Regions from separate parts of the Homo sapiens genome. Here regions 1 and 3 are each linked to region 2. The links are contacts of gene promoters, found by promoter capture Hi-C in blood cells and fetal thymus (Javierre and others, 2016). All regions are on one chromosome and are shown on one strand. Each heading gives the region's core, a stretch centred on a gene start or on the middle of the fragment in contact. The rest is flanking DNA. Distances are from core to core; before and after follow the strand shown. Region 1 overlaps CHRM3 (cholinergic receptor muscarinic 3). Region 2 holds the start of CHRM3 (cholinergic receptor muscarinic 3). Region 3 overlaps CHRM3 (cholinergic receptor muscarinic 3).

Evidence for each region. Contacts are between HindIII fragments. The CHiCAGO score rates a contact against its expected background, and 5 or more counts as called.
Region 1: a contact is called between a fragment that was not itself captured here and the fragment with the promoter of CHRM3 in region 2, in 1 of 17 cell types (megakaryocytes). The highest score is 6.0, in megakaryocytes.
Region 3: a fragment that was not itself captured here is called in contact with the fragment with the promoter of CHRM3 in region 2 in 2 of 17 cell types (megakaryocytes and naive CD4 T cells); the score reaches 5.5 in megakaryocytes.

The regions. Positions count from the first base shown.
Region 1 is chr1:239,715,436-239,718,292 of GRCh38, reverse strand. All of the region lies in intron 5 of CHRM3 (cholinergic receptor muscarinic 3), which reads right to left. All of the region lies in intron 1 of CHRM3-AS2 (CHRM3 antisense RNA 2), which reads left to right. Among named protein-coding and RNA genes, the nearest start is that of CHRM3-AS2, 2.3 kb to the left of the region's middle. The HindIII fragment of the contact is 2,233 bases long and covers 173-2,405 here.
Region 2 is chr1:239,385,214-239,387,941 of GRCh38, reverse strand. CHRM3 (cholinergic receptor muscarinic 3) reads right to left here and starts at 1,374. Exons shown (of 7, transcript NM_001375978.1): 1 at 715-1,374. RefSeq lists enhancers at 1-151, 152-652. The HindIII fragment of the contact is 9,736 bases long and covers 1-2,728 here.
Region 3 is chr1:239,736,726-239,739,457 of GRCh38, reverse strand. The region is part of intron 5 of CHRM3 (cholinergic receptor muscarinic 3); the gene reads right to left. Among named protein-coding and RNA genes, the nearest start is that of CHRM3-AS2, 19 kb to the right of the region's middle. The HindIII fragment of the contact is 171 bases long and covers 1,241-1,411 here.

The DNA.
Region 1 (2,857 bases), core at 40-2,539, 330 kb before region 2:
CAAATTCCAAACTGAGTTTATTCCATTTCACTCACTTAAAATTCCAGTTGTGATTGGAAAATATACACTTCATTTACCTTCTGCGCAGTGTTCAATGAACCGCTTGTCATGTTTCACCCTAGTAGGTTGCATTTCAATCCTGAGTGTGTCTGTGTAGCAGCTGATTAAAGCTTTGCTATTATTTGTAAGGGATGTTATAACATGCACTGTCATCTTTCTTGGCATTTTTTGAAACGGTAACATGAGGATTCTGGCAAAATAATATGGTAGTTGCTACTCTTTCCTTACACCTATACCATTTACTTGTCAGTAAACAAAATCATGTTTTCAATGAAGTAGACAAATAGAAAACTCAGCTTCCCTATCCTGTTGTATCTTGTGCCACTCTCTATAAACTGACATGGCATAAAATGACATAGCTTGATAAACTGCTGGAGTCAAACACAGATTACTGCCATTTAGCTAGAGCAGGACACGTCACTTGAGGACACGGCCCCAAGGAATGTCAGTTCTAGAGGAGGAAGGATAGAACCGAAATGAGGGATCTGGTTCTTTGTTGTGTGTGGCTGAATTTCCCGGACATTGTTTAAGGCAGAAATGACAGGTAGCATAAAAGAGCAAACCTTACCTTAAGAAAGCAGATTATATAAGCACCCCCCTTGAATCCCAAATTCCTGCCACACTAGGACTTTACCACATAGGTTATTGCTCAGATCTGATGAAATGTTAACTCCAATCCGTAACCAACTGATAACAACCAAAAACCACATTAGTCATTATTTACTAAGATAACAACGATAAAAATCATGTGTGTGTGTGTGTGTGCGTGTGTGTCTTTCCTTGAGTTCTGTATCAGGATTTTATAATGCTGAGAGAGTTGTCTATTAAGAAACATGTTTCAACTTTATTCCAAAGAAATGGTCCCCACTACTCTCTGTGAAACTGTTAATGTCCAGCATGGCTCTTGTTATCAACAGGATCTATTCTATGCTTTCCTGGTACCAGCATAATTAAGTCAACAAAACTGGTTGCTTTCAAAGCCAATAACTATTCAAGGCTACTTCCTCTGCAAGGGCACAGTTTTAATACACCCATAAGCCTTATTCAGGATCTCAATCTTTTGCAGTTGAAAAATGAATCCAAGAACACCGTTAGAGAAGCTCACAATTCAACTCAGATCTTACATTTGAACTTTTTCTTTTTTGGAAAATGTACTCATGGTAACTTTATTCATGCAAAAAAAAAAACTGGAAGTGATTGAGAACATTTGTTTTTCTGGCATTGAGGACATTTCAATTATTGTCCCTTAATATGTCATCTCATAACTATTATCTGGAACAAGTATTCTTCAAATATGCCATATGGATGGTTAAAATCAAAACAAACTATTAATAACAAATCTAAACAAAGCCAAACAACCAAATACACATACAAATAAACCAAATGAACCCTCCTGTACATTCTCATTTTGTCAGAGAGCTACATCCCCGCTCCCCTTGAGCTACGTTTGGGCCCCTCCCTTCTTCTAGCAAGGTTTTTTAAAGTTTAGGTTCTTCTTTCCTTTCCCTTCTTCTCCCTTCTCCTCTTCCTCTTCTTTTTTTAATTCTATTTTAGGACCCACTGGTTAGCTTTCCTTATTACCAAATTAAAAATATTATTTATTCACTCTCTTGCAAAAAAAGGCTCTTTTGAGAGTCACACTGTTTAGCTGTAAACATCATTTCTCCCTGTGAATGGCTGGAGTCCCAGTGAAGCCTTCTACATTTAACAAAGGCTTTGGTACATGGCTTAAAGTCTTAATATCCAACCCAAGATCCTGGATGACGTCAATGCCCTTTTCGATTATCAACCAGCACCTGCTTTATAGCTCCCTATTATTCACTACAATAGTCTTTTTGAACCTCCACTCTGCTTCAGCCAGTCACAATCATGGAGACCCCAAACTTGGCCACCTCTATACTTGTTCACTCTGTGAAGTTATTCTCTAAACAGCGCCAACCAACTTTTCAACTCTACCGACTTTGTATTTCCACTCCATCAGTTCTACAACCTCATTCATATCTCAAATCCCCTAAAAGTATCACTTTCTTTACTTCTAAAAGCTCCCTTTGGCTCTACTTTCTTCTCTCTTTAACCTAGACATCATAGCCTATCACTTCAAACATCCTCCTGTTAGTACCCACTTCTCGTTTGAATTCTTGTCGTCCCTCCACATTTTCCTCCAGAATTTCAACCCAAGATCAATGCAATTATTTTATGTCTGTTTTCATACACCTGGGTTGCTACATTCTGGTTAACTTCATGTGACTCTGCAGAATGGTACTGGTACAAAGCCCTGGTCTTCAACATCACTAGGACTTCAACACTGTCCAAATTTCCTTCCACATCTCCTTTTCTTTCAAGCTTTAACTGTTTCTTCCAATCCAACAGTATGTACAAACTGCCACTTCCTCACTCTCAGCAAAGCCCTCCTGTCCTAATTTACAGGTAAAATAGCCTGTGAAGTGAGAATTAACTCAATGTCCTTTCCTCCCTATGAACTGATTCCAGCCTAACTCTTTGCCACCCAACTCATTAGAAGAGATATCTTTTCTCTTATCCAAAACTAATCTTCCCACTTTTACTCTGGATCCTACCTTCCTCCCTCTTTATCTGTTTTATTAGCAATCCCACTTCTCACACAAACCTTCAACCTCTCCCATCCCATTGGTTTCTATGTGGTGGTGCACTGGAGCTGATAGCTAATTGTAGGTATCTTCTCAAATCTGCATTCAATAAGGTATTCTGAATGCCTTCTGCATTCTTCCATGATAGTTTTACTCCAGCCATGGTGACGGTATTTACGCCATGGTCATCT
Region 2 (2,728 bases), core at 125-2,624:
GAGGCTATGCTGAGGAAGTGTTCCAAAGAGGAGAACCGGTGCAGTCCAGCGGCCGCTGCCTCGCGAGTGCAGACTCTCCCCGGGTCAGTAAAGATGCGCACTAGGCTAGGTACCTTCGCCCAAGTGTTACTCGAAGTGCCAAATTTGCCTTCTCGCCCCCTGAAATGCAATCCGAACTTGCGGCCCCACTGCGAGGTTGGCGGGTGCCAGCTTTAGCCTTCTTAGAAATGACAGGAAACCAAATGGGGAGATGGGAGACAAACGCTCAACACACGAGTGCGCTCACAAACACACCCGGAGCCCAGTAGCTCCTCATGCTCGGGCACTTTGGAGCCTCAGATCCGGCAGTGGCGAAGAGAGAATCGAAGCGAGGGAGAGCGGGGTGGGACGTCCCCGACTCTCTCCCGGCCACCGCTCGCATGATTCCCGTCCCTTTCGGGGCACTTGAGTGCCAGCGGGCGTTCCCCACCCTCAGTCCCAGAACTCCAACTCCGCACCAGATCGCGCTGTCGGAATTCAAGTGCCCCCATCTTCCCCAAATCAACAGCCTCTCTCGTCCCTACCCAGCCCCTTCTTTGGACTCCAAACACAAGACCTCTCCTACCCGCGCCGAAAACTTTTTCCTCCTTTCGCAACGAGATAAGGCAAGAAACCAGGTCAGCCGCTACCGCCACCCGCTCTGCCCAGCGCCTGGGTGGCGGGCGCCGTCCCTACCTGGCAGCTGCGCTCCAGGTGGCTGTCCCACGCCGGTCTCCGCGCCTGCCCGGTGCGCGGGTGGCGTCCGCTCCACCTTCCCTTCGTCTCCTCCGGCTCCGCGTTCAGGGAGCGACTGTCCTTAAGATCGTGCCCCCCTGCCCGGAGCCGCCCTTCAGTTCATCGCCCGTCTTCCCAGAAGCGCTGCTGCGGCCCCGGCGGACTGATGAGGAGCCTGGAGATCCGCGATGGCACCGATGGCCCCGCGGTGTGCGCTCCGGGGTCTGAGAGCGCTCCGCCCGCGGGCAGCTGCGGCCGCGCGTCACATGCCGCCTCCGGGCAGCGGCCGCGGCACCTGCCCAAGCGGCAGCGCTCCCGGCTCGGCAGTGCCGCCCCCGCGCCCTGTGCTCCCCTGCACGCTCCGGCCCTTTCTGTTCACGCCCTTTTCCCTCTGTCTCCCGCCTCACTTTTTCTCTTCTTTCCGTCTCCTTCTTTATCGTGTATTCCCTTTCTCCAAAAGCAGAGAGAAGGCGCTCCAAGGGGGAGGAGAGGTCTTTTCCTCCCCACGAACTCTTCCTCTGCCTGGTGGTGGCGGTCGTGGCTACTGCTGGCCGCTCCTCCTCTCCTTCCTCCTCGCGTTCCTCCTGCTCCTCCTCCTCCCCGGACTGAGAGAGCTGGTGTAATGCACAGGCTGCGTGCTTGAGACCAAAACCTGCCCGGCTTCTGAGCATGCCCAGTTGCCCTGCCGGCGCCTAGCTCCATTCCCGCGTGCCCGCTGGGCTCCGCGTTCTCCGCCTGGCAGGGGGCGAGGAGATCCCAGGGTACTCCTGGGGTGGGTTGGCTGAAAGCGGAACACCAAGCAGGAGAGAGGGGGGCCTCACCCACCCAGCATGGCCTCACCTGTTCCCAAATTGTGCCTCCCGCGGCGCTTCAAAGATAGATTTTGCCGGTCTGTTAGTTTTGTTGTGTTCGCTTTTAAATTGGTTTCCCTGGACTGCTTAGAAGGACTGGAAGGAATTCGATTCCTTGGGCACAACTTATCGATGAGTGAACTTCAGCTCAGTTACAATATACGACTCCATGGCAAACCTTTCTCTAAGGAACAGTCTGATGCATCTACTTTTTGACATTTAGTGAGTCTGTTTCTGCAGAGCAGTGTAATAGAGGACGACTTGACTTTTCCCTCCCTGGACAGTTACACCTTGGGAGAAAATAAGACAAGCATCCATGAAGAAGACACTGACGTGCACGCGCGCGCGCGCGCGCGTACACACACACACACACACACACACACACACACACACACACACACTTTTTTAAATCAGAAAATAAAATGAAAGATATAACATTGCTAGCCAGTCTTTTAAAGCTCAAGAGGAATGAAAATCTAAGAAAGAAAGAAAGAAAGAAAGAAAGAAAGAAAGAAAGAAAGAGAGAGAGACAGAAAAGGTTATTATGTACTACTGCCAGCTAACTATGTAAGGAAAAAGTGGAGAGATACCAAATTTGAAAAGATACCAATGAGGCTGTCCCACGGCACTCTCGAGGTTTTGTTTAAAAAGCACATAAGGAAAGATAACAGAGGAATCTCACAAGAAAGGACAAGCATAACAATGATAACTGAAAAAGAAGAAAAGAAAGAAAAAGGAAGGAAGGAGGAAGATAAAAAGAAGAAAAAAGCAAGAAATTGAAGCATAGTATGAAATGAAATATTTAACAATATTAAAGGCAGCAAATGATTTTAATTCTATTTGGAACAAGAAGATAAATAGGAAAAGATAGAGCTCTTTGAAAAATTAAGTAATTCTAAGAGATTAGAGAAACACCAGTATATGAATTCCTTTCTGAACCTATATTCTTCTCTAGGTAGAACAATCTTTAGGAGAGAAGAGACTAAACTTTGCGTAGAAAAGATTGAGATCATGCTGGGAAAATAGCTAGTGAGAAAGCATGTGGCTACTTAAATTAATTAAAATATCTAGGCTTAGGTAAATTGCATCCAGGATACTAGAATAGTAATAATAATAACAATATT
Region 3 (2,732 bases), core at 77-2,576, 350 kb before region 2:
AGCTCACCTGACTAAAGTTTCAACAGCTATGCAATGTTATGGTGAAAGATTGCTGCAGTTGGCTTTGATTGGTACTGTTTTGGAAAAGAAATACTTTTGGATTTTTTTCTTTTGTGAAAAGGGCAATACAAGTGTAAGTCCTGAGCTCCTATTAATAGCCCCGGCAAGCACAGCAGCAAAACTCAGTGCATGCCCGTTTTCAAGTGCTTCTGAAATGACAGGAGCTTTCAAACAGAACTGGGCAATGCATTTTTCCAATGCCAATGCATGCTGGTGCTGCTGTGCCCTGTCAAATACATAATATTGAAAAGCCCAACTGGGCACCTATTTGCTACAATGTTCTTGGCTGTTCTCCACCCATCATGTCCCAAGATAGAATCTGCTCAGAACAGCAACTCTGTTCTTAGGTGCTTCCTGTAGTGAGCATTAACAAAACGATTGAAATCTATGGAAACAGGTAGGGACGATGTAAGGGGAGGCAGGTGCAAAAATCTTCCAGGAGCAACCTCAGAAGAGATATTGCATGCACTGTGCCTTAGCAGTGACCAAGGCTTCTACCTCAAAAACAAACCTTAAATGAAAGCTGTCTTTTCCAGGACCATGCATGGAGAGGAATAGATACAGGACTCTCTGAATAATATCTGCTATTTACACAGTGCTTTTCTAAGTGAACAGAATACACTCTACAAGCCCTCTTGAGGGAGCAGAAAAAGTGTTCAAATGGTTAATTTTAAGTTTCTGTTCCCAGTGCACAAGATCTGGGAAAAGAAAGTCATGGGTCTGTATAGACTGGGCTTTTGTCCCTCTCTCATTTCATTCCTCATGTTCAATCATTTATTTGACATGTTTCTAATATCAAATTTACAACATGCATCTACTCAAGAGGACAGTCACACTTTCCTAGGGAAGCACTGTTTTCTGACTGCCCTGAAATTAATGTGTTCTATTCTCCCATTTGTACATGCTTCCTGGACTCCCAAACCCCCCCTGAGCCTGGCCTTGGGATAATAATCCCCATTTGGCTGGCTGGAACCACCTGATGACCCGACTGTTAAGCTCCAGTACTGACTGCAAGCCAGGGCTCTCCCGACAGGGCACTGGTGCTGAAGAGCTGAGCAATGTAGCTTCTCTCAAATTCTCTACAGAGGTGCATCCTACAATTATAGATGACTTCAGAGAAGGAATGAAGGGCATGGGGTTATCAGGGAGGAGGACTGGGTGAGAGAAGGAACCAAAAGCTTGTTACCAAAATGCAGATACAAGGTACCATTAGAGAAAATTTAGTCATATTGATGTTTCACTGCAAACCTGCCATAGTGGAGGAATTGTGAACTCAAACCCCATATTCGTTTTTAAAGTTGTTCTCTTAATTCTTGCTGCTAATGAAACAATTAGATAAATTAAAGAAGCTTCATCCACAAGTAATTATTTCAGTTTTTTGTTGTTGTTGTTGTTGTTATTTTTGTCATTCTCATTCCCAGGTTGGTATTATAAGGAAGAAACAAAAGTAGTCAATCATATTTTCTGCCAGTGGTTTCTGGGCATTTTTTGTTTGTTTGTTTTTTAATTGCCCGTATGTGTTCTGAAAGATCAGCTTGCTTCAGTTGTTGACTCTCTGAGATCTAATCAGATATCTTAACAGATAACTTTGTAATTCATAAGTATTGTCTCCTAGGCAGGATGTCTTACGAAGAGTTTTCTGGGTCACCTACTCCTTGAAACAAATAAAAACAACACAGAGAGCAGCATAACATTACAAACAATGCCATCCCAACTCTGGAAAACATTGCTCTACCCTAGGTCAACTCTCAGTGCCCTAAGCAGCCAAGAACCAGTGATACAAATGTGCAAGAAGAAAGTGGTTATAATTTAAGGTTGAGGAGCAGAGGATGTTGTAAAAGCAAGTGAGGTCAAAGTTAAGAGTCAGGGCTTTAGTTTTGAACTATGTGCTTAGGACTTTGCTGAATGGCATTTGAAACATCTGAACACCTCTAAACGGGGTTAGTTGTGTGTTTATTTTTTCTGAATTTAAATGATTTGTGGCAACCATCCCAACATTATCGCACTTTCTATGACTGAGGATAGATTTAGTGGTTAGTTTTAAGTTCCATTATTTGCTCAGATTTTCTCTGGAAAATTTATTTTGTCAAAACAGATCATTGCAAAGTGGCTTTACTCACTACTCATGGTGATAAAGGGCAATAATTGCATTGTAAAAGTTATTTGGTCATTTTATTAAAATGTGGGATGAAAATTCTTCTAATAAATATGCCCTGATGACCAATGGTTTTAAGTAGATTTAGGCACATCATTGTAATTATTTATACTTTAGTGTAATATATTAGAGAAGTAATATGAATGAAGAAAATGTTGATATTAAGTCACATGTATACTTACTTAGCCAGAGTTCATTTTGGGGATAGAAAAGTCCCTTAAATGAACCAATAACAATAAACTATTTTAAAATACTTCTGCAGTAGCAGTAATTCTATACAAATATAAATGTGTTATATAAGTATATTCATACATTTTCAGCAAGACTGAACTTTCATGCAAAACTAAGAGTAGAGAATCGATTTCTATGATTACCCAATGGAATATTTTAAGTGAATATTTTAAGTTGCAGCCATTTTTATAGGCAAATTCTTTACAAGTTACTTAATTACACTTTATTATATATGAGAAAACAAAACATTAACAACACAATGCTGCCAGTGCAATGCCAGAAAGGT